Regions from separate parts of the Homo sapiens genome. Here all the other regions are linked to region 1. Evidence: promoter capture Hi-C in 16 types of primary human blood cells and fetal thymus (Javierre and others, 2016). All regions are on one chromosome and are shown on one strand. Each heading gives the region's core, a stretch centred on a gene start or on the middle of the fragment in contact. The rest is flanking DNA. Distances are from core to core; before and after follow the strand shown.

Region 1 (3,574 bases), core at 598-3,097:
GCTGTTAGTGGCATGAGCAGGAAATGGCTTCCAAGGGCAGAACCAGGTACATTTCAGATATATTTCACCCTTTTTTGGTGCATTTGCGTAGCCACAATCTCTGTTAATTCTTGCTTGAAGGTAGATGATTCTGAAATGGGGTAGATAGAGGTGCGAGAGGAAGAGAAAATCCATGTCAGCTAGGTGGTGAATTAATATAGATGAAGGGCCGTGCTAGAAAAGTAAATAATCTAGGTAGTCTGGCTGCAAAGTAACTTTTAAAAAGATAAAAGATATTAAAGTATTATGTATTATTGGAATAGCTAGTTAAATTAACTCACAGAATGTAGTCTTCTAACTAGGAAAATCTAATGTAAAATTGTTCCATATTATGACTCTGGACATTTTATTTCAGGCACATGAAAAACAGTAAAAGACAGATTCTGTACCATACTTTTCCACAGCATTTTCCATGCCTTTAGATGTAGGAATCAAACAATATACATCAGGAATGAAGAGTGTGCTACATTAGAATCACAGACTCTCAAAGGTTAAATGAAAGCTTAATGGTCGTCTAATTCAACCATCCATCCAATTTCACTATGGATCTTCACTCTTAAAGTAATGAAATACTATTCCACAAGCATCAATTCAAACAAACCAAGCTGAGAAGGAAATGGGCCAGAAATGTCAACCTTTTTCCCCCCGAGCAGGAGGGGGAAAATGCAAGAGTATTGACTCTAGGGAGCATGTATAAGCTCTTTTAATGTGCTGAATTTTCATAGGATAAGCAACCTTGGCAGCAAAACAGTTAAGTCATTGAAATGTTACCATTTTGCAACATTCTCTGCTCCCTATCCTCTAGCCATTGTCTTGGTGAAGTCCACAGGTGGTATATATAGCAAAGCTCTTTCAAAATGGCCACAGAAAAGAGCAAGAGAGAATAGAAGAAGACGGAGAGGGAATCTTATTCCTTTAAAAATGTCTTAAAGACTTTCTAAGGAGACTCTTGGTCACCCTGAGGATGGTTGGCATTACCTCTCCTTAGAGAGGTGAGTGTCCCTGATGTTCCGAGGCTACCAGTCCAACTGAGGACAGGCTTACAGGACAGCACAACAATCCTTAAAAAGAAGTTGGAGGAGGAGAAGGAGAAAGAGATTTCGGAGGGAAAAGGAATTTTAATTCCAAAAATATACCTTATTTCCTCCTGAATAGAGCTGTAAATTTGTAAAAGTAATACAAACATCTTCTGATTTCCACTCGGACAATCTCCCAGGCACAGTCACTGTATTTCTTTTCTTTCAGGAAATTGTCTATCCTGTGGAAATATCTCCTCAGTTCCAGGCTGCTCAGCTGGGGGACCCTGGCTTCTGAGGGTTTCATCTCATTCTCTTTCATTTCTTTCATGTCTTCATTTTCATTCTTGTCTTCCTCCAAGCATTGGTTCAGGTACTCTGCTTGCTGATCAAGTCCTATTTGGATTTGTTTGAGGTGTCTCTCTTTCCAATATTTGAAGGTGTGTTGGCTGAAGATGTTGAAGGCCTGTAGGGACATTTCATAGAAGGCCTTCTTGATGTCCCTCTTCATAGGTTGGGTGTATTGCAGAAACTCTTGGGGCAACTCAAAAGCTATGTTTTCTCGTAGACATTCTACAGGAAATGAATTGCTCATACTACTCAGATGTCTCAGATTTTGCCAGGTGACTCTTCTCAGGTGAACGTTCAGTAAGTTACAGTCCAGGGATAGGGTGCCAGCAATGAATATACCCATAAGGATCTCAAGCCACAAACACTTTTGAATCATATCAGGTTTGGTGCTCATTTTTTTTGCAAGCTAAAAAATCCAGAAGATGTGTATATGACAATGATGTTTTGAGTTTTCCTTCATGTGCCTTTATATACCTGAATATCTTCAGCAGGAGGAGTTTTCTCATTCGTCATTTCACAGTTAACCAAGGTTGCGGCCCCTTTCCTTTGCCTCTGAGGCTTTTTTTTTTTTTTTTTTTTTACTTCGGGTGACTATGCCGACTTTGGAAGTGATAACTTTTTTTTTTCCCTGAAAAATGAGCAAAGAATTACCATCGTGTTACCTTAAATGCCTGGATGATCCATCCCAGCACTAAGGAATCATCATAACAAGACTGATGCAGGGTATTTCAGAAAGCCAAAAGCTGTGAGTCCATGCACTCACTCACTCACTCACTCACCCAAATCTATTACATAAGAGGGAGTGATCCTTCATGAAAATATATTTTTTGTACCTGGTGCTATAGCCAAACATCCTGTCTCATTGAGTTAATCATAGACATTGACCAAATGACTGTGATTATTTGATTGCTAGGTCACCAGAGCACAGTATAGTTTAGGTTTTTCCAATTTTGTTAAATTAAGCTTCTATATTTGGATATTTTCTCTTTTTGATTTTTCTGGATCTCCAAAAAGATGAAGAATAGAGCTGGCACTTACTAAGTAGGAGACTAAGTTGGCTTGGTTTTCTGTTGCATTAGAAAATGTTGATAATCTCTAAATATCCTTTTCTTCAGTTAAATCCATCCTGGACTTAGCCTTCCATATGCCTCTGATACCTTTCTTAAAAGTCCTGGAGGGGGTTTTATATTTGAGAATATCTTTCTGCCTCATTAACTTCTCTCTTGTAGTATCATTTTCTTTTCTTTTCTTTTCTTTTTTTTTTTTGGTGCAGTTTAGGCAGTATTTTTAAACTTTTGCTTGATTGCTTGATTATTATATCTTCTTGCCTGGTGGTTCTGGATTCTGTAAAGGCTTTTGTTTGCTCCTGTGTTTGTTGTGCACTGAGGAGGTATGTGAGTAGGAAGTCACCCATTTAGCTAAGTGAATTCCTAGCTGGACCAATGTTACTGTGGTAATGATGGCTATCTATTGTTTATGGTTTTTACTTTGTTTGACCAAATAACCTTCCTCTGATTATGGTTAAAGCAAATGGATTCTTTTCTCCAGGAAAATAAAATGGATTGTCATTTTAAAAAGGTAGCTTATTATATCTTCTCAAGAAAAAAAAGATATACATTAATTTGCAATTAAGTCATTGTAAAATGGTAAATAGCCACAGTTCCACAAACATGGCAGACTTTGATTGAAAAGTTGGCTTAAAAAGTTCTTGTCTAAATCAGTTGACTGCACCAAAGGCTAATTGTGGGTAAGTGGGATTTCTTAAAATCCTGGCTTTTAGGAAAGGTTTCTTACGGAAAAAAATATATATATATATATTATTCTATTTGTTCCATCTACATAAATTCTTATTTCATGGGCAGATTTCTTGGGCTGACCAAATTTGGAAAACATTAAGAAAACAAGCCCTTTTATATAGCGTTATAAATTGACACAACCTTCCTAGAGAGGAAAGTGGTGATATGGATCAAAAGCCTTAAAAATGTACATAATATTTGACTCAGCGATTGATCCTCTAGGAACTGATTCCCCAGAAATAATGATGATGCCCTTAAAGACTTAGCTGTAAGGAAGTTTGTCACAGCAAAAAATGGAAAACAATTTTAATGTTCAGCAATAAATACTTAGTTAAGTAAGCCATCAGTAGAAAACATATATGTAAGCACTAA
Region 2 (3,574 bases), core at 494-2,993, 240 kb after region 1:
TTTTCTTCTTCAGTTATAAAAGTTGTGAGAGTCAGTACTCTGTCAACCCAGAGCTGGCCACGATGTCTTACTTTCATCCATCAGAAGGTGTTTCAGATACATCCTTTTCCAAGAGTGCAGAGAGCAGCACATTTTTGGGTACCACTTCTTCAGATATGAGAAGATCAGGCACAAGAACATCAGAATCTAAGATAATGACGGATATCATTTCCATAGGCTCAGATAATGAGATGCATGAAAACGATGAGTCGGTTACCCGGTGAAGAAATCAAGGAACCCGGTGAAGAAATCTTATTGATGAATAAATAACTTTAATTATTTTGTCATCAAAAGACCTTTCTTTATGTCTTCTGTTAATGTCATGAGTTTGAAACTGCCGAGACAAACATTCTGGTGTCTTAAAAGGAGGACAGACTCAATACAAATTATCTCTCGGTTATAAAATTTAATGGAAAATACACAAGAAGATAATTTAAGGTGTGAGAAACTCATCAAGTAAAAACATTCCTGGAGAGTGACTTTGAAAGATATTTTCTCTAGGCTGGTTCACTTTAAAACAAGGACATTTAGATATTTACCTTCCCCAGGGGCATTTTGAGAACATCAGGGAACTCACCACTGCCTATGCGCCCCCTCACCACCGCTGAAGCAAAAAGAACACACCTGTTCATGTTTTATTGACAAAACAGTTGTGCCATCAAGAGATGAAACTAAATTAATGGTAGGAACTCTTAGCATTCTTGAACTGTTTAAAAGTCGTCAGGGGTTGCTCTCACATGACAAAAGGTAAGAAAGAAAAGATACTTTTCCATTTCTTTTCTTTTCTTTTTTTTTTTTTTTTTTTTGAGAGGGAGTCTCGTTCTGTCGCCAGGCTGGAGTGCAGTGGCGCGATCTCGGCTCACTGCAACCTCTGCCTCCCGGGCTCAAGCGATTCTCCTGCCTCAGCCTCCTGAGTAGCTGGGATTACAGGCACACGTTACCACGCCCGGCTACTTTTCGTATTTTTAGTAGAGATGGGGTTTCACCATGTTGGCCAGGATGGTCTTGATCTCTTGACCTCATGATCCGCCTGCCTTGGCCTCCTGAAGTGCTGGGATTACAGGTGTGAGCCACCGCACCCGGCCATATTTTTCCATTTCTAAAGTATCCATAATCGTTTGAGACAACACAGTGTTCCAGAAGAAGAGAGAGGAAGAGGGGAATTCCAGAAGGTAATTTCCTAGCTGGGGACTCATGGACCTTGAGTCTTTTAGAGCTGAAGTGCCCTTCTTTCTCTCTTCCCCCAGGCATCCAGGATTATTATGTTTCACTGAAAGAAAAGCAATGCTTTTCAAAGACTTATTCAAGTTTATTAGTGACTTTTGTGGCTATCCATACCAAAAGTATTTCAATTTACAAAGACAGAAAATAGGGATAAAGTTTCCTTTTTAGAAATTAGTTTCGGCTGGGCGCGGTGGCTCATGCCTGTAATCCCAGCACTTTGGGAGGCCCAGGTGAGCAGATCACGAGGTCAGGAGTTTGAGACCAGCCTGGCCAACATGGTGAAACCCTGTCTCTACTAAAAAAATAAAAAAAATTAGCCACGTGTAGTGGCACACGCCTGTAATCCTAGCTACTCAGGCTGAGGCAGGAGAATTGCTTGAACTCGGGAGGCAGAGGTTGCAGAGAGCTGAGATCACACCACTGTACTACAGCCTGGGCGAGAGAGCAAAACTCCATCTCAGAAAGAAAAAAAAAGAAGAAATTAGTTTCAAGTGGAGGGATTTAGCGACATGCATCATGTCTTTTCTGGATATGTATGGATATGGGAGAAGAACTTAGGGCATGTTTCATTGCCCTCTTCAATTCTTACCATACCAATAGCTTTCATTTACTGAGTACCTACTTTATAATAGGCACTTTAGAACATTGTATCACATTAAATTCTACTATCTTATGAAAGGTGAGTTTATTTTACAGATCAGAAAACAGAAGTTCAGGTAAATCAGATAAATTGCCTAAGAGCACCTGCTGTGATGTGCTTCCAATCTGAGGTTCTCTCCATGATCCATGAAGGTGAATAGTCAGACTTGCAGCAAAAGTCTTTAGGATCAACACAGGCCCAGCACCCAAGACACATAAGGTTCCTTAACTCAGGTGTTCTTTCAGCTCTTGGGAAACTGTTTTCCTTTCCTTTAGCTTGGGTATCTATAATTCTTCTTCCTCACGAGAATAAACACACATTTTACTCTCACCTGCCACTTCCCCTACTATCCATTGTTAGAGTCCTTCACTCCCAAATTTCGCCGCAGACTCCCGCCCAGTCTCACTCACCATTGGTTGGGAAAGCTACGAAGCTCCGCCTTTGAATAGTGATGGGCTATAAAAGACGGCACCTTTGAGGGAAAAGGCAGTAGGTCAGGCGCTCACCTTTGCCTGCTCTCTGGCAACAGTGCTCACAGTTTCTGAGCCAGTGGAGGTGGCCTGGAGCAGCAGCCCATGCTACTCTCTGCCGGTTATTTTGCCATTTCTCTGTGCCCTTTTGACAGCTCCAGGGATCGGTGCCAGCATTTGTACTGCCAGTTCAGGCACCTGCAGATCTGGTGGAAAAGTGAGGGAGGTGATTGCAGTTGCTTGGAGATGCTCCAGGTGCAAAGGAGTTGTGTTGAGTCCACAGGTGAGAAAGGGACATGAGAATATCAGGTGGGCTTGGAGCGAGGTTGATAACCAACTATTCCCACGTTTTCTCTCCACCCCTCCTTAGGAGGTACCAAGAATTTTCCTGATTGGAAAGGGGTGGAAGAGCCACTTTTCAATCATGTAAAAAGTAGTAGTAGTACTAGTAGTAGTAGTACTTGTCTTTGGTACTAAAGTAAAGCATTGTACAAAGTTGAGTACAGCATTACTCTGGCTACAATATCTAAAATGGCCAAAAGAGATATGTTAGCTATATATTTTTAAATGGGCTACTCATCCTTAGACCGTTGGCATAGTTTGCCTTGTAAAGTGCAGTGAAGGTATTTTGAGGGGGATGGAAGGGGAGTGGGCACAGGAAGAATGTCAGGAGGTACTGGTATGTGTGGTCTCTTTTCCTCCCTCTCCTGCTCTAAAAGTGAGAAGAGGGTCTCACAGCCAGTGCTGGTTGGGAGAGGTCTTCTTGTTTCTCACTGCTGACCCTCTATGCCATCCATAACTAAACCTTCATTTTCTGAACAGGTTTTCTGGACCTCTGACCTGCTTGCCCTGGAAGGCATCATAAAACCGGTTCCTTTTTAGCCTATCAGTCTCTCCCCCATTCTGAAACTCCCTCTTATTTCCTGTTGCTGATGCTCCCTAATCATCCTCTTCCCCAAAACCTCAAAGGGGACTTTCAATTCTGTTCCCCCATCCCCGTAGGTGTATTTTGCTGCTTTGTTTTCCTCTACCTTAACTACTCACAGTGATGCAGGTGAACCCCAAAACCGGGGCTCAGCTCGGGAGGGTTCTTGGCTTTGCTCAGGAAAGAATTCAAGAGCCAGCCAACAGTGAAAGCAAGCAAGTTTTTAAAGAGTAACATTGTACAGCGAAAGTGGTGGCTCCATAGAGCAGGGCTCCC
Region 3 (3,574 bases), core at 690-3,189, 230 kb before region 1:
GACATATAAACAGCTCTAAACTGAAGATTCCGTTTAAAGAGAGTATAGATTCATAGCAACAGAACATGACAATTACCATGAGAATTACAGGCTTAAAAGCCATCTTTTGGTCCATTTAATGAAAACAATCATTTCACCCCAAATACATATCCTCCGTCATGGTTGTATAGAAGACTGCTTTGGGTGGTCATAACCACTCACTTTCTGATAATTATTTCCCAACCTAAAAAGTTCATTTCTAAAATATGTGAAGTAAATGTGGAAATAAGAGAGATGTGCTGGGGTTTGAGAAAGCCCAATACGAAGACCTCGCTTCCCTCCCCAAGTTTTAAACCCATCGAAAAACACAGTACCCAGATTGAGATCTCATTTCCTGGTGGAATTAATCTGTGACAGTCCAGATGTCAGAAATAAACAATATCTAGAGCACCATAGGCCTATAGAACTTTCTGCAAAATGGATACATTTTATAGCCGTTCTGTTCAATATGGTAGCCACTAACCACTTGAAGTGGGTCTAGGGTGGTCGAAGAACTGAAATTTTAATTTTATGTAATTAATTTAAATTTAAACAGCTATATCTAGTTAGTGGCTACTGTACTGGACAGTGCAAAACCAGGATGTCAGGACAAGAGCTAGGAATTCAGTGACATGCCATGGTCCTGCCAACAATGTGTGGAAAAGCAGTCAAACACAATAGGAAAAGGTAACTAGGTGTTGGTCACAAAGGAAGACAAAGATCCAGGTTTTGAAGGGAGGAAGGGAGATAATAATAAGCATAATAATAACTACTGAGTAGCTATGGTAGGTAATATTATTGCCATTTTTCATTTGAGGAGAGTGTGGCTCAGAACTTGTCCAAGGTCATACATTTAATAAGTAGGAAAGCCAGAATCTGAAACTGACTCTAAAGTTTATCTTCTTTCTAGCGTGCTCAAAATGGGATTCCTAAGAGCAAAATCATCAAATCAAGCCAAATAGTGATCATCAAATATCTTCACATATCCTTAGTCCTTAAGCCTTCTGATCTCTCTTAAGATTCACCTTATGCATCACTATGTAGGAGGTAAATAGGAGAAACTACAGTCATTCAGCAGCTTCCTTCAACCACCATCTGTTGAATACCTACCAAGTTCAGGGTGCTGGATGCTGCAGACGCTGAAATGAATAGGAGATTAAGACATGATTGTAAGTGAAATGATGGTAAATTGTGGCTGGATTGTATCCTTTCAGCTAACTGTCCCCACTGCAGAGCCCTGAGGCACAGTCACCACTCAAAGACCCTGCAGGGAGGAACAAACACAGCACAGGCTGTGGTTCTAAATTCCCATGCCTTCTCTTAGCCTGCAGAATTGGCTGCTCCTTTGCACAGAAGTGACCACGGATGAGGAAAGGGTTCACAGAAGCATCTCTAGGGTACACAATTCACATTATATTCTGTATGAATGGTGCCCCCGACACTAAAACTGGTGGCCTTCTATGAACCTCTCTTCATACACGATTTTCCTAGGACCTACTCTGGTTCCTGTTCGACTTTTTTAAAGGATAGAGTAGGGAGAACTCCTGGGCATATCTCAGCAAATTAGCAGCACAAAAGATGTGATTAAAATAGAAATTTCCTTTAAGCTTGTAGCAACCCAAAAAGAGAAAGTGGAAATCAAAGTTCCATGCTTGCTTTCTCCCAAGGAAAACTTCAGCTTCTAGCATTATGGCTCTGAGCTCCGCCTACAGGTGATTCTGGGCCACCTATGCTATCAGCAGTCTGGATCCTCAAGGAGCTCACAGCCAAGTGAAGGAGACACAGCAATAAATTATTGCTGTTCAACGATAGCTTCTATAGGAGAGGGATGTACAGATGCTAGTGGTAGCTCCAAGAAGGTACTAGTCAGAGTTTCGCAGATGTCTTCTACAAGAGCTCTGTTTTCAGTAAGATGATAGGAAATTAGACCTGAGAGCTATTGTCTACATGCATGACCTATGGTGTTTGGTGAGATGCTCCCAGCAGTCAACCTCAATGCAGGGAGCCAGTACTTCCTAAGAGGTACCCAGCTTGACTGATGAGTTTTTTACTGTGAACCAACCTAAACCAACTATTAATCAAGGAAAGAGAAAACATGAGATGCAGGTTTCAGGTTCCACGCCATATCTAGGTCCATCCTGAAGACGTATACTCTCCTTTCTTTCAGAAGATTAAGGATACGCCTCCCCCACCACCCCCAAAAAAGGGATAGCCAAAAAAGGTGCCGTAAGCTTTTTTAAAGCCATTAATTAATCATGAACTTGAGCAATTCTGAATCTGCCCTGAGAGTGTCTGAGTTCAGTGGTTAATTTTCCAGATCATCTGCATGTAAGATCCACAAGGAAAGACTTGATTGAGTATAGGCTCCCCAGGGCAGAGGCAGTTCCATTCGTCACTGATCCCTCAGTGCCTAGCATGCCTGGTACCCAGTGGGTGTTTATTATATATTAGTCCTCCTTCTCCATGTAGTAGTTCAGTTATGTTCATCACACATTTATGGAGTACCTGTGTGCCTAGCATTATTCTAAGGGTTGAGAATAAATAGAAATATAAGACATTCTGGTCCTTTGCTCTCCGATGGCTTACAAACAGAGAACACTCAGTAAATGTTCTTTGAATTGAATTGCTGACTGAGTGGTTCAACAGGATAGGCTTGGAACTACAAACTGACTCTCGACAGAATTCTCCAATCAACTGAGTAGGAAAAAAAAACTGGTTTGAGATATATCCAAATGATATTGATCAGGAATATAGCTTGAAATTCTTAACTATGCTTGTGTTCACTGTCATAATACTGATGCTGATTTATCCCTTCCCATACCTATCCCCAACACCGGCTCCTTTCTGAGCAGTAAAGTTCAGGAGGAAGCCTGTTATCCCTGATCAGAGAAACACACAGGTCTACACGAGATTTGGACTGATGTCCTTCATTGGCATCATCCTTTTACCAGCTGGCCCCACATATTGCAGATGTGCCAAAATGGATTCGCTATCATGTTGACACAGCTTTATTGTATCTTCTCCAAAACAACTTAGAATTTTCCTTCCAAGGTGTAGCATTGAGATGGACAACTTAACTTCTGTATTTCCTGACTTTGTGAGTGTATGTCTAGATTAGTATTATGGAGATTACTCAGGGTTTGTTTTTTCACTCTTTGGCACTTTGGTCTATAAATCATGCTATTTATTTGTTTGTCCCTAACTGTCCAAAGGAGACTATCCTTGTCACTGGAAAATAAGGCTGAGTAGCCATACAGTGGCAGAACACAGGCAATCACAAATGATCAGGGAAACAAAAACTAGCAACAAGATGAATGTACTGGAAGCAAGCATAACAAAGAGAGGTGACGGTGAGCACGGGCCATTGCTCCAGCTGCACAGCCAGTGGCTCTGTGCATAAATGCTCAGCAGGTTTCAGTGCAGGAGCTGGAAATAAGTTTATACCCGAGGCAAAATAGACGGTCAAGTCAACTTGAGGCGCATTAGAGGAACAGGGGAAAGGAGGGTGGAAGTGATTGACAAGGGCTACATGGCACTTCTTACGTAATATCCCAAC
Region 4 (3,574 bases), core at 580-3,079, 220 kb after region 1:
GTCTTCTCCCTGGGGCATTCTGAGTGCCTGGAAGCACTTGATTTGCTTGTGCAGTCCAGCCCTTAAATGCCTGGTCATTCTCAGTGTGATCCTGCATCCCAGCCCCTGTCGCCTGACCCGGCAATGAGTCAGCCAGCCCCAGAAGAGGGAGGGCAGAGAGAGACACACACCCAGCCTGTGCTGTTGCCGCTGCCCCCGAGGTGACTTGATGATAACTCCTGCAACTCCCCCAATAGAGGAGAAATGACTCTCTTTTCTTCAGGCCGTGAGACTTCTCCACACCCACTTCTCTCTCTTCTTGCCCAACCTGCTTAGAATACGGAGAAACTGGAACCATTAAAGTCTCTTCTTTGGCTCAGGATCCTTCCTTTTCTCTCCAATGGGTGGTCTCACGAGGAAGTCAGGCAGCAATAGAGATTGTTTGTGTGCAAGCCACAGTCTGTGTTTCTGTCTAAATATCTCTAGAGGAACAATTAGCTGCTCCGTACCTAGAACTACACAATGCGTTTGTTTTGTTTTGTTTTGTTTTGTTTTGTTTTGTTTTGTTTTGAGACGGAGTCTCGCTCTGTCTCCCAGGCTGGAGTGCAGTGGTGCGATCTCGGCTCACTGCAAGCTCCGCCTCCCGAGTTCACGCCATTCTCCTGCCTCAGCCTCCCAAGTAGTTGGGACTACAGGCGCCCGCCACCATGCCTGGCTAATTTTTTTTTTCTTTGTATTTTTAGTAGAGACAGGATTTCACTGTGTTAGCCAGGATGGTCTCTATCTCCTGACCTGCGATCCGCCCGCTTCGGCCTCTCTAAGTGCTGGGATTACAGGCTTGAGCCACCGCGCCCGGCCGTAGTGAGTTCTTAATTAGAATAATACTCATCGAATCTGAGTTGGATATTAAAAAAGTAAAGAGAGATGGGGGCTGCTGGATGATGAGTGAGTGAAGAGGTCAGGAAATGTGAGACATCTAAGGGATTGAAGAACAAGGATGTCAGGTGTATCCAGAGTAGAGAGCTGCCAGGATGGAAGGATGTGGCAGAAGGTGATTTGTCTGAATGTAAGTTTCCAAAGTGTTCCAGCTATTTATTGCTGCATTGCAAAGTATGCTGAAACTTGGCGACTTAAAGCAATACCCACTTTAACATATCTCATGCTTTTGTGGGTCATGAATTCAGGCAGGGCTCAGCAGGGCAATTCTTCTGAATGATGTAGCTAATCATTTATTTTCTTTTATGCACTATGTAAACTTACTACTCAGATTTAAGGAAAATAATATTCAAATTAATTTTTTAAGCACAGTTTTTGGGCTTATATTAATGGACTGTGACAACTAATTTATACCTTGTGGAATTTATCTCCATTTAATGAATTCTCTCGAAGACTGGGATGACTCAATTAACATTCTTAATATTCTTTAAAAATATGTTTTAGGCCATTATATAAAATTGTGTTATTTATGGATGCGGTGGCTCATGCCTGTGATCCTAGTGCTTTGGGAGGCCGAGGCAGGCAGATCACCTGAGGTCAGGAATTTGAGACCAGCCTGGCCAAAATGGTGAAACCCCGTCTCTACTAAAAATACAAAAATTAGCTGGGCATGGTGGTGGGCGCCTATAATCCTAGCTACTCGGGAGGCTGAGGCACAAGAATTGCTTGAACCCTGGAGGCAGAGGTTGCAGTGAGCCGAGATTGCACCACTGTACACCTGCCTGGGCGACAGAGTGAGACTTTGTGTAAAAAAAAAAAAAAAAAAAAAATTGTCTTGTTTCTTAGTATGTGTATGTCTTCAACTTCATTCTCTATACTACTTATATGACCTACCCAATAGGATACTGGTGTACTCTGCCTCTTGAAAAAATATGGGTATATGAAAACCTCACCACATCTAATTCTTTTAGACCTGAGGAAAAATTATGTATATAAATCTGTAAAGTAAACAAGTTCAGCCCAATAAATGGGTCTTAAATAGTACTGGCTGTGAAACTTAATTTTCCCATTTTTCAGATGAGTGAAAGTTCAGGGTCAGAGAAGAGATGATTTGCCCATGATCATACAGCTAAGAAGTGATGGAGCTAATATCCAAATATATGGCCTCCTACTCTAGGCTTAGTGCTGTTGAGAGAAAAGACACAGAAATGGGAAAGGGCTTGTAATCCAGATGTGGTCAATAAACATGAAATCATTCAGGAAATAAAGTCACAGAGTACAAAGTATATTTAATGACATTCTTGGTATTAGCAAGAGATGCCTTTCAGGGTCTTCTTTAAAGACTTAAAATATGACATTATGTAGAGAAAATAATATACACTTGATTATTTTAAAGAAAAATTTATACTAGATTGTGTTATAGAACATCTACATTTATGGAAGGGCTACATTACAGCCCAAAATTATAACCTCCAGAGAGGACACGTTCAATTTTAGTTTGCATAATCTCTTCTATTTGTCTATTCTATACATTTGCTAGGGCTGCTGTAACCAGAAACGAGTACCACAAACTGAGTAGCTTAAACAACAAATTTATAGTGTCACAGTTCTCGAGGTTACAAGTCCTAGATTAATATATTGGCAGGATTGGCTCCTCCTGAGGGGCATGAGGGAGAATCTGTTCCATGCCTTTTTCCTAGCTTCTGGTGGTTTGCTGGCAATCTTTGATGTTCCATGGCTTCTGCTGTACCTCCCTGATCTCTCCCTTCATCTCCACATAGTATTTTTTCTGTGTGTCTCTGTGTCCAATTCTCCTCCTTTTCATAAAAACACCAGTCATGTTGTGTTGGGGTTTCATCCTACTCCAGTATGACCTCTTCTTAACTAATTATATCTGCAACAACTCTATCTCCAAACGTGGTCACATTTTGAGGTTCTGGGGATTAACACTTCAACATGTGAAATTTGGGGGCATACAGTTCAACCCATAACACCTCTGAAAATATGTTCTAAAAAGAATACTGATCATAGGACAAAGAAAGGTTAACATCATTTTTTTTTTTTTCTTTTTTGGAGCAATAGGTCTCGCTATGTTACCCAGGCTAGTCTCAAACTCCTGGGCTCAAGTGATCCCCCTACCTTGACCTCCCAAAGTGCTGAGATTATAGGCACAAACCACCACACCTGGCCTAAAGTCAATTTTTAAACAAACTTAGTTTCATTAAATCTAATGCTTTTTTTATAAAGCCTACAATATCTGTACTCTACCAATTCAATTACCTAGGAAGAGCATTAGTCACATTAAAAACTAACAATCTTTTGAATATAGGAGGACTCAGTGGAGAAGCTATATGATAAAGAAAATTCCATTCATGTCATTAGAAAATGCTAAGTTGACTTTTTGGCACTTAAGTGCTTCCTGAACTAAATAAAGTGTTTTATTCCCTCATTCATCAAGCACCTGTTATGGGCCACACAGTGTGCCAGCTTTGGGGCACACAGTAGTAAACATGTTTCTCCAGCTAGCACTGACTTCCCCTTTATTGCCAGGGACAGGGGAAATTCCATTGATGCCATCTTCCTCCTGGAACAACTTCTTCCGAGTTTCACCAGGGCTGAGCTATGTCATTCAAAGCTCTAAGGTGGTTTGCAGCAACAT
Region 5 (3,574 bases), core at 657-3,156, 210 kb before region 1:
CTATACAAAGCCTCAGCCCAGTGAAAACATCCAAAAAAGAAGTCTATTGACTGTACTCAATCTACACTGCAGTTAAAGGAACAACCACATGCAGTGATGAGAAAGAACCAGTGCAAGAACTCTAGTAACTGAAATGGCCAGAGTGTCATATGTCCATCAAATTACTGCACCAGTTCTCCAACAAGAATATTTCAGAATATCATCCATGAACATTTCCCCATCCTTGCTAGAGAAGCCAATAGTCAAATTCAGGAAATACAGAGAACTCCTGCAAGATTCTACACAAGAAGATCATTCCCCAAGACATATCATCATCAGATTTTCCAAAGTCAAAATGAAAGGAGTGTAAAAGGCAGCTGGAGAGAAAGGGGGAGTCACCCACAAAGGAATCTCCATCAGGCTAACAGTGAACCTCTCAGCTGAAATCCTACAGGACAGAAGAGATTGGGAGCCCATATTCAACATTCTCAAAGAAAAAAATCTTCAACCAAGAATTTCATATCCAACCAAACCAAGCTTCCTAAGTGAAGAGATAAGATCCTTTTCAGATAAGCAAATGTTGAGGGACTTCATTACCACCAGACCTGTCTTACAAGAGATCTTGAAAGGAGCACTAAACATACAAAGGAAAGACTGCTACCAGCTAATATGAAAACACACTTAAACACACAGACTAGTGTCACTGCAAAGCAACCACATGAACAAGCCAATGTAGTAACCAGCTAACAGCACAATGACAGGATCAAATCCACACGTATCAAGGTTTGTATTGATATCAAGGTTAGTATTGATATGCATGGATTTGATCCTGTCATTGTGCTATTAGCTGGTTACTAACAGCTAACTGGTAAATGAGCTAAATGCCTTGACAAATGGGCTAAATGTCCCCACTTAAAAGGCACAGAGTGGCAAGTTGGATAAAAAAGCAAGACCCAATGGTATGCTGTCTTCAAGAGGCCCATCTCATATGTAATGACACTCAGGATCAAAATAAAGGGATGGAGAAAAATCTACCAAGCAAATGGAAAACAGAAAAAAGCAAAGGTTGCAATCCTAATTTCAGAAAAAAAAAAAAAAAAACAGATTTAAAACTAACAAGAATCAAAGACAAGGAAGGGCATTCCATAATGGTAAAGGGTTTAATTCAACAAGACCTAACTATCCTAAATATACATTCACCCAACACAGGAGCACCCAGATTCATAAAGCCAGTTCTTAGAGACCTACCAAGAGACATAGAGACATAGACTCCCATGCAATAATAGTGGGAGACTTCAACACTTCAGTGGCAGTATTAGACAGATCATCAAGGCAGAAAACTAACAGATATTGAGGACCTAAACTCAGCACTGGACCAAATGGTCCAATGATATTCTGACAGACCTTTACAGAACTCTCCACCCAAAACAAAACAACAGAATATACATTCTCATTGCCACATGGCACATACTCTAAAATTGACCACATAATTGGATATAAAACAATCCTCAACAAATGTAAAAGAACCAAAATCATATCAAATACACTCTTGGACTACAATAAACATAGTAGTCAACACAATGAAAATCATTCAAAATCATACAATTACATGGAAATTAAACAACATGCTTCTAAATGACTTTTGAGTAAAGAATGAAATTGAGGCAGAAATCAAGAAGTTCTTAGAAAATAATGGAAGCAAAGATAAAACATGCCAGAATCTCTGGGACACAGCTAAGACAGTGTTCAGAGGGAAATTCATAGCACTAAATGCCCACATCAAAAAGTTAGAAAGGGCCGGGCGCGGTGGCTCACACCTGTAATCCCAGCACTTTGGGAGGCCGAGGCGGTCGGATCACGAGGTCAGGAGATCGAGACCATCCCGGCTAAAACGGTGAAACCCCGTCTCTACTAAAAATACAAAAAATTAGCCGGGCATAGTGGCGGGTGCCTGTAGTCCCAGCTACTTGGGAGGCTGAGGCAGGAGAATGGCGTGAACCCGGGAGGCGGAGCTTGCAGTGAGCCGAGATCCCGCCACTGCACTCCAGCCTGGGCGACAGAGCAAGACTCCGTCTCAAAAAAAAAAAAAAAAAAAGTTAGAAAGACCTCAGATTAACAACCTAACTTCACAACTGGAAGAATTAGAAATGCAAAACAAACCAACCCTAAAGCTAGCAGAAGAAAAGAAATAACAAAAATCAGAGCTGAATTTAAGGAAATTGAGACACAAAAAACAATTCAAAAGATCAGTAAGTCCAGGAATTGTTTTTTAGAAAAAATTAATAAAATAGATAGTCCACAAGCTAGACAAATTAAGAAGAGAGAAGATTCAAATAAAAACAAATAGAAATGAAAAAGGGAATGTTACTACTGGCCCCACAGAAATAAAAACAACCATTAGAAATTACTATGAACACCTCTACACAAACAAACTAGAAAACTTAGAAGTGATGGATAAATTTTTGGACACATACACCTTCCAAAGACTGAGCCAGAAAAAAATTGATTCCCTGAACAGACCAATAATGACTCTGAAATTGAATGAGTAATAAATAGCCTATCAACTAAAAAAAGGCCAGGACCTGATGGATTCACAGCCAAACTCTACCAGATATACAAAGAAAGTCTGGTACCATTCCTACAGAAACTATTCCAAAAATAAATAAATAAATAAATAAATAAATGAGGAGGAGGGACTTCTCCCCAATTCATTCTATGAGGCCATCATGATATTAACACCAAAACCTGGCAGAGACAACACACAAGAAAACGTTAGACCAATATCCTTGAGAAACATTGATGCAAAAATCCTCAACTAAAGACTTGCAAACCAAATCCAGCAACACATCAAAAAGCTAATCCACCATGATCAAGTAGCCTTCATCCCCAGGATGCAAGGTTGTCTCAACATACGAAAATCAGTAAATGTGATTCATCACATAAACAGAACTAAAGACAAAAACCACAGGATTTTCTCAATAGATACAGAAAAGGCTTTCCTTTATGTTAAAAACTCTCAGTAAACTAGGTATTGAATGAACATACCTCAAAATAATAAGAGTCATCTATGACAAACCCAAAGCCAACATTATACTGAGTGGGCAAAACCTGGAAGCATTCCCTTGAAAACCAGCAAGACAAGGATACCCTCTCTCACCACTTCTATTCAACATAATATTGGAAGTCCTAACAAGAGCAATCAGGCAAGAGAATGAAATAAAGAATCTCCAAGTAGGAAGACAGGAAGTCAAACTATCTCTGTTTGCAGACATGATTCAATATCTGAAAAGCCCGATAGTCTTAGCTCAAAAGCTTCTTCAGCTGATAAACAACTACAGTAAAGTTGCAGGATACAAAATCAATGTACAAAAGTTACTAGCATTCCTATACACCAACAACAACCAACCAGAGAGCCAAATCAGAAAGGCAATCCATTCACAATTGCCACACACACAAAAATAAAATACCTAGGAATATAGCTAACCAGAGAGTTGAAAGAGCTCTACAATGAGAATTACAAAACACTACTCAAAGAAATCAGAGAAGACACAAATAGAAAAATATCCCATGCTCATGGAAAGGAAGAATCAATATC
Region 6 (3,574 bases), core at 687-3,186, 200 kb before region 1:
GTTAAGTTAAAAATCCATCAGAATTATATATTTTCAGCCCTATCTAGAAAAAACAAAACAAAACACAGTGCAATGAAATCCTCTTACCCTGGTCCTACATACACTAGGTGGGTCTGCCGAAGAATATCTGCTTCTATTCATTTCCAAACATACAAAGATCAGCCCCCTACCCCAACCCCCCCCTACCTTTTTTTTCTTTTACTTAAACCAAGACTTCTTCCAAATAAGGTAGCTTTTCACAAAATTGTTTCCCCTCCTACATCTGTGTTCCTGGTGTCAGAAGCTATAGAGGCTGCTATTTTCCAGAACTGTCATTGTATTCTGTAACAAAGCATCCTTTCCCTTAGCTGAGCTGAACACTAGAGTGCTTTTAAACTAAGTTTTAAAGAATCTAGGCATCTTTTACCTTTAGCTGTCGGGTCTGACTTAAGCAATTTTCCTTCTTCCTCTTGATTGAAGCTCATTTTAAGCTTAAAGAACAGTAACTGTAATCCTAGTTCTCCTTCAAGGATTCTGAAAATGATTAAAACAGCAACACTTAATTCTTTGAGTATTAAGCCATGATATCTTAAGAAATCTGTGGTAGGGAGAATTCTAAAATGGCCTTGAAGATTTCTGCCTACTGGTATATATAACTTCTGTGTGTAATTCTCATCTTGAGTGTGGGCAGAATCTGTGAATTTGATAGAATATCATTATCATGATTAGGTTATATTCTTTGGCAAAGGTGAAGAGATTTTGCAGATGTAAATAAGTTCTCAAATCATTTGACCATAATGAATTAATCAAAATGGAGATCATCTTAGGAAGGCCTGACTTAATCAGGTAAAAGCCTTTAAAAAGAGAGACAGATCCCTTCCTGAAGGGAGAGATTCTCCCACTGGCTTTGAAGAAGTGGCCATGTTGTGAAAGGACCACATGGTAAGTAACTGTGAATGGCCTCTACGTCCTAAGAAAAGCTTCCACCTGACAACAAGAAGGAAAAAGACCTAGTTCTCTAATCACAAGGAACTCAGCTAACGAGCACATGAACTTGAAAGAGGGCCCTGAGTTTCAGAAAGGAACAGACATCATCCTATATCATTTCTTACATTTTATTTCATTTTTAATTAACAAATAATTGTATATGTTTATGGGGTACAACGTGATGTTTTGAATAGTTAATAAAAATGTATTATATATTTCAAATACCTAAAAAGGAGGGTTTTAGATGTTCTCACCAAAAAGAAATGGTAAATATTTGAAGTGATAGGTATGATAATGTGCCTGATTTGATCATTCCATTCAACATCTTGATTGCAGCCTTGGGAGACCCTGAGCAGAGGATCAAGCTAATCTGTGCAAAAATTCTTGACCCACAAAAACCAAGATAATAAATGTGTGATGTTTTAAGCCACTAAGTTTGTGGAAAGTTGTTACGCAAAAATAGAAAGCTAACCTTCACTTTGAGTCTAAAAGTTGCTATCAACAAGAGCAAAGATAAAGGAAGTTCAACTCAGACATTCAGTTTGGTCTGTAAGTTGTTATGAACAAGAGCAAAGATAAAGGAAGTTCAACTTAGACTTTCAGTTCAAGTCTATAAGTTGCTATGAACAAGAGCAAAGGTAAAGGAAGATGTGGCTGAGGAGAGGCTGCCCATATGATGGAGAACATTCTCACTAGTTATCAAGAGACCTCAATTCTGGTCCTAGCTCGCCACTAATTCATTGAATAATATTGGACAAGTCACTTTATTTCCCTGAGTCCTACCCAGTTTGCTCACACATAAAATGAAGGGATTGACCTAGATACACTCCGAGACCCCTCCAGTCTCCGATATTCTCCAAGCCTGTGAAACTATGTCCCCTGTAGCATAAGCCAATCACCTTCCTTCCACACAGCACCAAATGGTAGCTCACCATTAGGTGGCATGAACCCCTAGAAAACAAAATGTCACAAAGGATGACATTGGAAGAGTAGAGAGAATCCTGCTTTCTTTTCTCCCAAGTGTCTCCACAGTGGCATGAAAAGCAATACAGAGATACTTCTGAATCCACATACCCTAGCAAGACTCAGGTCATAAAACTACACTAGACATCAAGACCTCAAAAGGGTCCTTGGTCTCATACAAGACTTTTCTATGTCTCTGTGTACCTCTGTATGAATCAGGAGCAACTGATTACAATCTTCTCCTTATTATCACTGTTATGTCTCAAGTCATATAATAACACCTACCATTAATTGAGCAGCTGATATTAATGTTCTATCTCAGATACTTTATACACATTATGTCTCAGAGAAGATCAATAACTTATTGAAGATTACACAGTTAGGAATTCAGGATGAGAATTTTTACCCAAGTCTACCTCAGGCTGAAGCATGTGTTTTTTCCTCTGCATGACACTTGCACTGGTGTCGCAGTACTTACCCACGTGCCCTATCCACTCAACAAACATCTCATGACCAACCATTCTTATGTCACATTATAGAGTGACCAGCTATCCTAGCTTGCCCAGCACTGAGAGGTTTACCACGATGCCAGACTTGCAGTGCTAAAACTAGGAAAATCCCAGGCAAAATGGGATGAATTGGTTATCCTAACCAACCTGTGAAGAGGTCTGGGTGTGCAAACCTGGAGTGCAGGAGACATATGGAGCTATAAAGTGAGATCCTAAATGCAAAACTTTCTCTGAAAGTCACTTTATTTCACTTCTTGAGCACAATCCCATGCCCTCTATCCTAAGTGTGCCTAAACCCAAATGTGGTCTGTCCATGCAAACTCTTAAAATAACCATGCCTGATACTCTATATTACACTCCCACCTGTCAGCTGGGAATCTGCCAGAACCTGGGTAGCAGGTTTTCCCAGTCATCTGCAGGTCTGCATCATCCAATCTAATACCCTGCCTGAGATAGAGGAGGAATTGAAGCTTAACGATGCATCCTTTAACTAACTTTGCTCTTTGATCCACCTAATACCTAAATCTCTTGAGAACAAATTAAGACTTTATGAAGTCTTGAGTTGTTGTTGCTTTGTTATTGGCCTCTAATTCCAAACCCAGTAAATCTCTTATCAGCCTAATGGCAATATCTCAACTCTGGTACATGGTTCTTGATCTTCTCTTGTAACTTTACAAGTCTACATGCTGCTGACAATACAAATAGGGAAGGCTGTTGACTGAGGGAACACTTAATCTAAAATTTATATTCTGAAGTATGTGAAACCTGATCCTGGTCTCTGTTTCTCACTCAGAGTTGACCACAGGGTTCAAGTGGGCTGGACAATGGGGCCTCCAGCTGTGGTAAACTACAAAACCAGCATCTCCCACTGATCCAGGCCCATGTTGGGTTCCAGGAGCAGCATCTCCAAGCATCTAAATCTCTTGGACACTTTTTATCAGGAGGAAATCTAAACGTTTACAGTGCCAAAACCAAGATACATTATTTGGCCGGAATACTGAGCATCCAGATGGATGCAAACCAAAAACTCTGCCTACCAGATGACCCCCTCTGGGAGTCAAGAGTCTGTTTTGGAGTGGTCTTATGCTGAGATTTAGCCTGTTCAAAATAAAATGAGATGCAGCAGCCATACAGGG
Region 7 (3,574 bases), core at 790-3,289, 180 kb before region 1:
GAGGTCTTTGAAGGTTAGATATACTGAGGGATGTGTTGAAAGAGAACACACATGTAAAATGCTTAATTTGTAACATTGTAAATACCTTTATCACCATCCCTATCCCTACTATTCAACTAAGCATGTATTATAAATCTATTATTATGTTACAAGTTGCACTTATTAATGAGAAGTTTTAACTGCTGGTCTATTCTTCTAGAAGGTACATTAGAAAATAGAACTTACGTACTTTATCTTAAATCAGAGTCGACTATATACTGGCAAGAAGTGATACAACATCCCAACATAGCATCTTTTTAATGCTTGAATTGTCCTCTTTTTAGAGAGTTAATATCTTGACGGTAATTATGCTATGCTGTGACTTCCAACATATGCTTTATTTTTTTGCTAGTTCTTCCTTAATTTTTCACTTATCGGTACTGCACTGTGACATCTGAACCCAAGGAAGCCAATGCAATAATAACAAAAAGTGCTGCTATGACACTCTTGAGTCTAAAGCAACCTCAGCAAGTGCAGCATTTGGAGAGTTCAGCCAAAGGACAACGCACAACCCAGGAAATGTGCTAATCGGTGGTTAAGACTCCGATGTCTCTACCAGCTGGAGCAGTGGTCTTTAGACATTGCTTCCGAGGGAGTCAATAACATGGGATGTGTTAGTTTTAGTGCAGTGAAGCAGCTTTTGTATAGCCCCTTTTTTAAGGACACATAACTCTGTCATGGCTGCAACTCCACGGACAATGTCCTCTCTTTTTAAGCTCATGAATTTCACTTTCCTAACCTGACAAAACGGTGTGTGTTAGATGACACATGGATGTGGAATTATTACACAGGAACCATCGGAGAGACAAAACTGTCTGCTCTTATTAGATTTGATGACTAGGCAACACACACACTACTGATCTAGAAAAGCTATGAGAAAAAGAAAGCTTTAAATTGGGTTAGGGGACTTGAAGCATAATCTGAGATGCCAGTTGCTTCAAAAATGAAATTGTGCCAATGTCCCCTCCAAGAGAAGAAGGAGGCTAGGTGCCTAAAACGCAGAGACACCCCGTGGCATCATATCTAAAGGCCATGCAGTAAACAGAAATCCAGTGTGAAGAGAAAAGTTCAGAACAGAGTGAAGAGGACAAAAAGAGTGAAGCCTGCACTTCCCTGAGAGGAAGTGCCCCCACCCATGACAAAGCCATCAAGCCACTTCAGACACATTCCAGATAGAGGAACACAGTATGCTGCTGCTGTGAAGACAAGAGGAAAGAAATTGGGAATCTTTTGTATCCCATTTAACAAACATTTCCTGGGAACTTATTAAGTGTCGAGCACTATATTCAGTCTTGTTGGAACCAATATGACTAAGACTTCCATATAGAAATGTGTCTCCAAGGGATCTAAAGTAAGGGTCAAAGTTTTGCCCAAAGAAGGAACTTGAAATCTGTCTTGGCAAGAAGTAAGTTATGATTCTAGAGAGTTGTGCCATGTAATATAAAAGGGCCAATTGATTTGAAAGCAAAAAGGGAATGTTTTATACATACGTCATTTCTATCATAAGAACTCAGTCTGGCCTTTTCAGATTGCTGACTTTAAGCAGACCATGTCCCTAATGATCACTAATGCTGATTGATACTCTGGTTGTGAGTTTGTGTCTCTGCAACTCACGTCAGCCAGTTCACATCACTGATTAAGCTCTCTCTGGGTCTCAACCACGTGGGGCCCCCATGAGCAGTCAGCTTTGTCTGCCTTCCCCCTCAACTTTGCTCCACTGAGACATGGATCCAGGGTTGATCTGTGTGACCTTAAGCGGACTAGAACTGTTTCAGAACACCCTCAGAAAACACTTTTGTATTGCAAGTGCAGATGAAATGGGAACAGAGCAGAGCAGCATGGTTAGGGGCTAAAGCATTCCTCTGCAATCTATGACAAAATCCTTAAGGCTAAATAAACAATCCTTTCCTGCCTCCCAGGTGCAATCTTGAAGGGGATCTGATCCCCTGCAAGGCTTTTCTGTTAAACGTCAACTTAATAAATAAAGTTTACATTTTCATAGTTAAAATACGATCACCGTCCAAACGGTTTTTTAAGAAACAATTGCCTTTCCATCCTAAAGCAATTGTCATCATGAAGTTTATGTACTTCGCTCCACTATGTTACTACATGAAGTTGCATGTGTTTTAACATAGTTGTTATTGTTTTTCATGTATATTTTTATAATCTGGCTTTATTTCACTTGATATTAGATCAGTAGTAATTGATCCATAATCTTAATTTGTAGCTTCTTTTCAAATGCTGCATAACAGTCCCTCATTTTTCTCCATTTAAAGAACCCCAGTTGTCACTAGAAAGAGGATTTATGAGAATATCTTTCTGAATTGATTTGTTTTCTACTATATGTGTCTAGTGTTCTACTGTTAAGTGTTATTTTAGTGTTCTTTGGCAGTATCAGCTCTCTTCCCCCAACTCACCCACATCCCTTCTTCTTTTTCTTTCTTTTAACAATTCACATTATTCTATGGAGAAAGTGACCACCATTGTGAGCATCTGGGACAGCTCAGCTGAAACTTAGACTCAAAACTGTGGAGACTTGTGACTGAAACAGAAAAACTGTTCAACCTTTCATGACGTTGGGAAAATAAACATAGATAACTCTAATATGAAATGTTTGCTTTAGTCCTGGTGTCACAGGGAGCTGATAGATGACATTTTCACTCAAGTGCAGCACTCTACAGTTGGTAGCATACTTTATGGGGACCCAGAAATAATCCTCTCCATGAGGCTTATCATTATTACTTTAAGAGAGAATTAATCTTTCTCCCCTGAGTGTTTTAACTAAACTTTTGTTTTAGCTGTCAAACTTTATTCTACTTGGTTTTACCATTAATTGTTTTGTTTATAGATGTTTCCCCATAGATAATAATAACCTTGAGTGGAGTCATTCATTCATCATAAAAATATGGGCCATCACATAAATGGAGGACATGGAGCCTGGTACAGGGTTGGCAACCAATAAACTTGAAAATGCATTGCCAATAAGCAAATGTTCACTGGTTGCTAACTGTGTACCAGGCACTTGGTTAAGTACTAGAATTAATTCACATTTTTTTCCTCAGAAAAATATAGAATTGATTCCTGTCAAATGCAAACTAACAGAGTCAAGCTTTAAAACCTGGCAGATTTGGTCGGACCTATCTACCTACTACAATGAGAAAACACCTATTTTAATCCTTTCTCTAACTCTGTGTCCATGCCTAATAGAGCCAATAAATTAAGCCCTGTTGGTGAGGTAAAATATCTTGAGCAAAATATAGACTGGGAAAGCACTATTAAACAGCAAGCCATAAAATAACTGTAAACCTGCTTATGAACTACCTTGAAAGTAATTTCAGGCGAGTGGAGAAGGAACCGATTACCAGCAGCAATAGCTGCCAGGATCTTTTACACCAGTTCCTTATAAATGGGAGTCACCTTAGCAATCTTCACCAGCTTCCTACTGAGAAGAAAAGTAACCTGTACATAAAGATTTATAATGTCTACTTAAAGGTGACCTGGGATGGAGTTTGCCACTTTTAACATCCCACTTGTC

The links. The method cuts DNA at HindIII sites, captures the fragments that hold promoters and counts their contacts. A CHiCAGO score of 5 or more calls a contact.
Region 2: a fragment that was not itself captured here is called in contact with the fragment with the promoter of IFNK in region 1 in 5 of 17 cell types (total B cells, naive B cells, M1 macrophages and 2 more); the score reaches 9.0 in total B cells.
Region 3: a fragment that was not itself captured here is called in contact with the fragment with the promoter of IFNK in region 1 in 1 of 17 cell types (neutrophils); the score reaches 6.9 in neutrophils.
Region 4: a contact is called between a fragment that was not itself captured here and the fragment with the promoter of IFNK in region 1, in 8 of 17 cell types (monocytes, activated CD4 T cells, total B cells and 5 more). The highest score is 8.8, in monocytes.
Region 5: a contact is called between a fragment that was not itself captured here and the fragment with the promoter of IFNK in region 1, in 1 of 17 cell types (neutrophils). The highest score is 6.3, in neutrophils.
Region 6: a contact is called between a fragment that was not itself captured here and the fragment with the promoter of IFNK in region 1, in 2 of 17 cell types (neutrophils and monocytes). The highest score is 14.1, in neutrophils.
Region 7: a contact is called between a fragment that was not itself captured here and the fragment with the promoter of IFNK in region 1, in 1 of 17 cell types (neutrophils). The highest score is 8.3, in neutrophils.

What each region holds. Positions count from the first base shown.
Region 1 is chr9:27,522,563-27,526,136 of GRCh38, reverse strand. It overlaps IFNK (interferon kappa), which reads right to left and starts at 1,847. Exons shown (of 2, transcript NM_020124.3): 1 at 1,176-1,847; 2 at 1-130. The coding sequence starts at 1,800. The coding sequence ends at 1,177. All of the region lies in intron 1 of MOB3B (MOB kinase activator 3B), which reads left to right. The HindIII fragment of the contact is 1,828 bases long and covers 544-2,371 here.
Region 2 is chr9:27,281,412-27,284,985 of GRCh38, reverse strand. It overlaps EQTN (equatorin), which reads left to right. Exons shown (of 8, transcript NM_020641.3): 8 at 14-332. The coding sequence ends at 263. It also overlaps the pseudogene REXO6P. Among named protein-coding and RNA genes, the nearest start is that of EQTN, 14 kb to the left of the region's middle. The HindIII fragment of the contact is 7,253 bases long and covers 1-3,574 here.
Region 3 is chr9:27,756,401-27,759,974 of GRCh38, reverse strand. The region is part of intron 2 of LOC124902135; the gene reads right to left. Among named protein-coding and RNA genes, the nearest start is that of C9orf72, 180 kb to the right of the region's middle. The HindIII fragment of the contact is 624 bases long and covers 1,628-2,251 here.
Region 4 is chr9:27,299,959-27,303,532 of GRCh38, reverse strand. No RefSeq gene overlaps it. Among named protein-coding and RNA genes, the nearest start is that of EQTN, 4.6 kb to the right of the region's middle. The HindIII fragment of the contact is 3,881 bases long and covers 1-3,574 here.
Region 5 is chr9:27,737,356-27,740,929 of GRCh38, reverse strand. The region is part of intron 2 of LOC124902135; the gene reads right to left. Among named protein-coding and RNA genes, the nearest start is that of C9orf72, 170 kb to the right of the region's middle. The HindIII fragment of the contact is 2,775 bases long and covers 519-3,293 here.
Region 6 is chr9:27,717,857-27,721,430 of GRCh38, reverse strand. LOC124902135 reads right to left here. Exons shown (of 3, transcript XM_047424284.1): 2 at 407-513. Among named protein-coding and RNA genes, the nearest start is that of C9orf72, 150 kb to the right of the region's middle. The HindIII fragment of the contact is 1,949 bases long and covers 962-2,910 here.
Region 7 is chr9:27,698,818-27,702,391 of GRCh38, reverse strand. No RefSeq gene overlaps it. Among named protein-coding and RNA genes, the nearest start is that of C9orf72, 130 kb to the right of the region's middle. The HindIII fragment of the contact is 2,222 bases long and covers 929-3,150 here.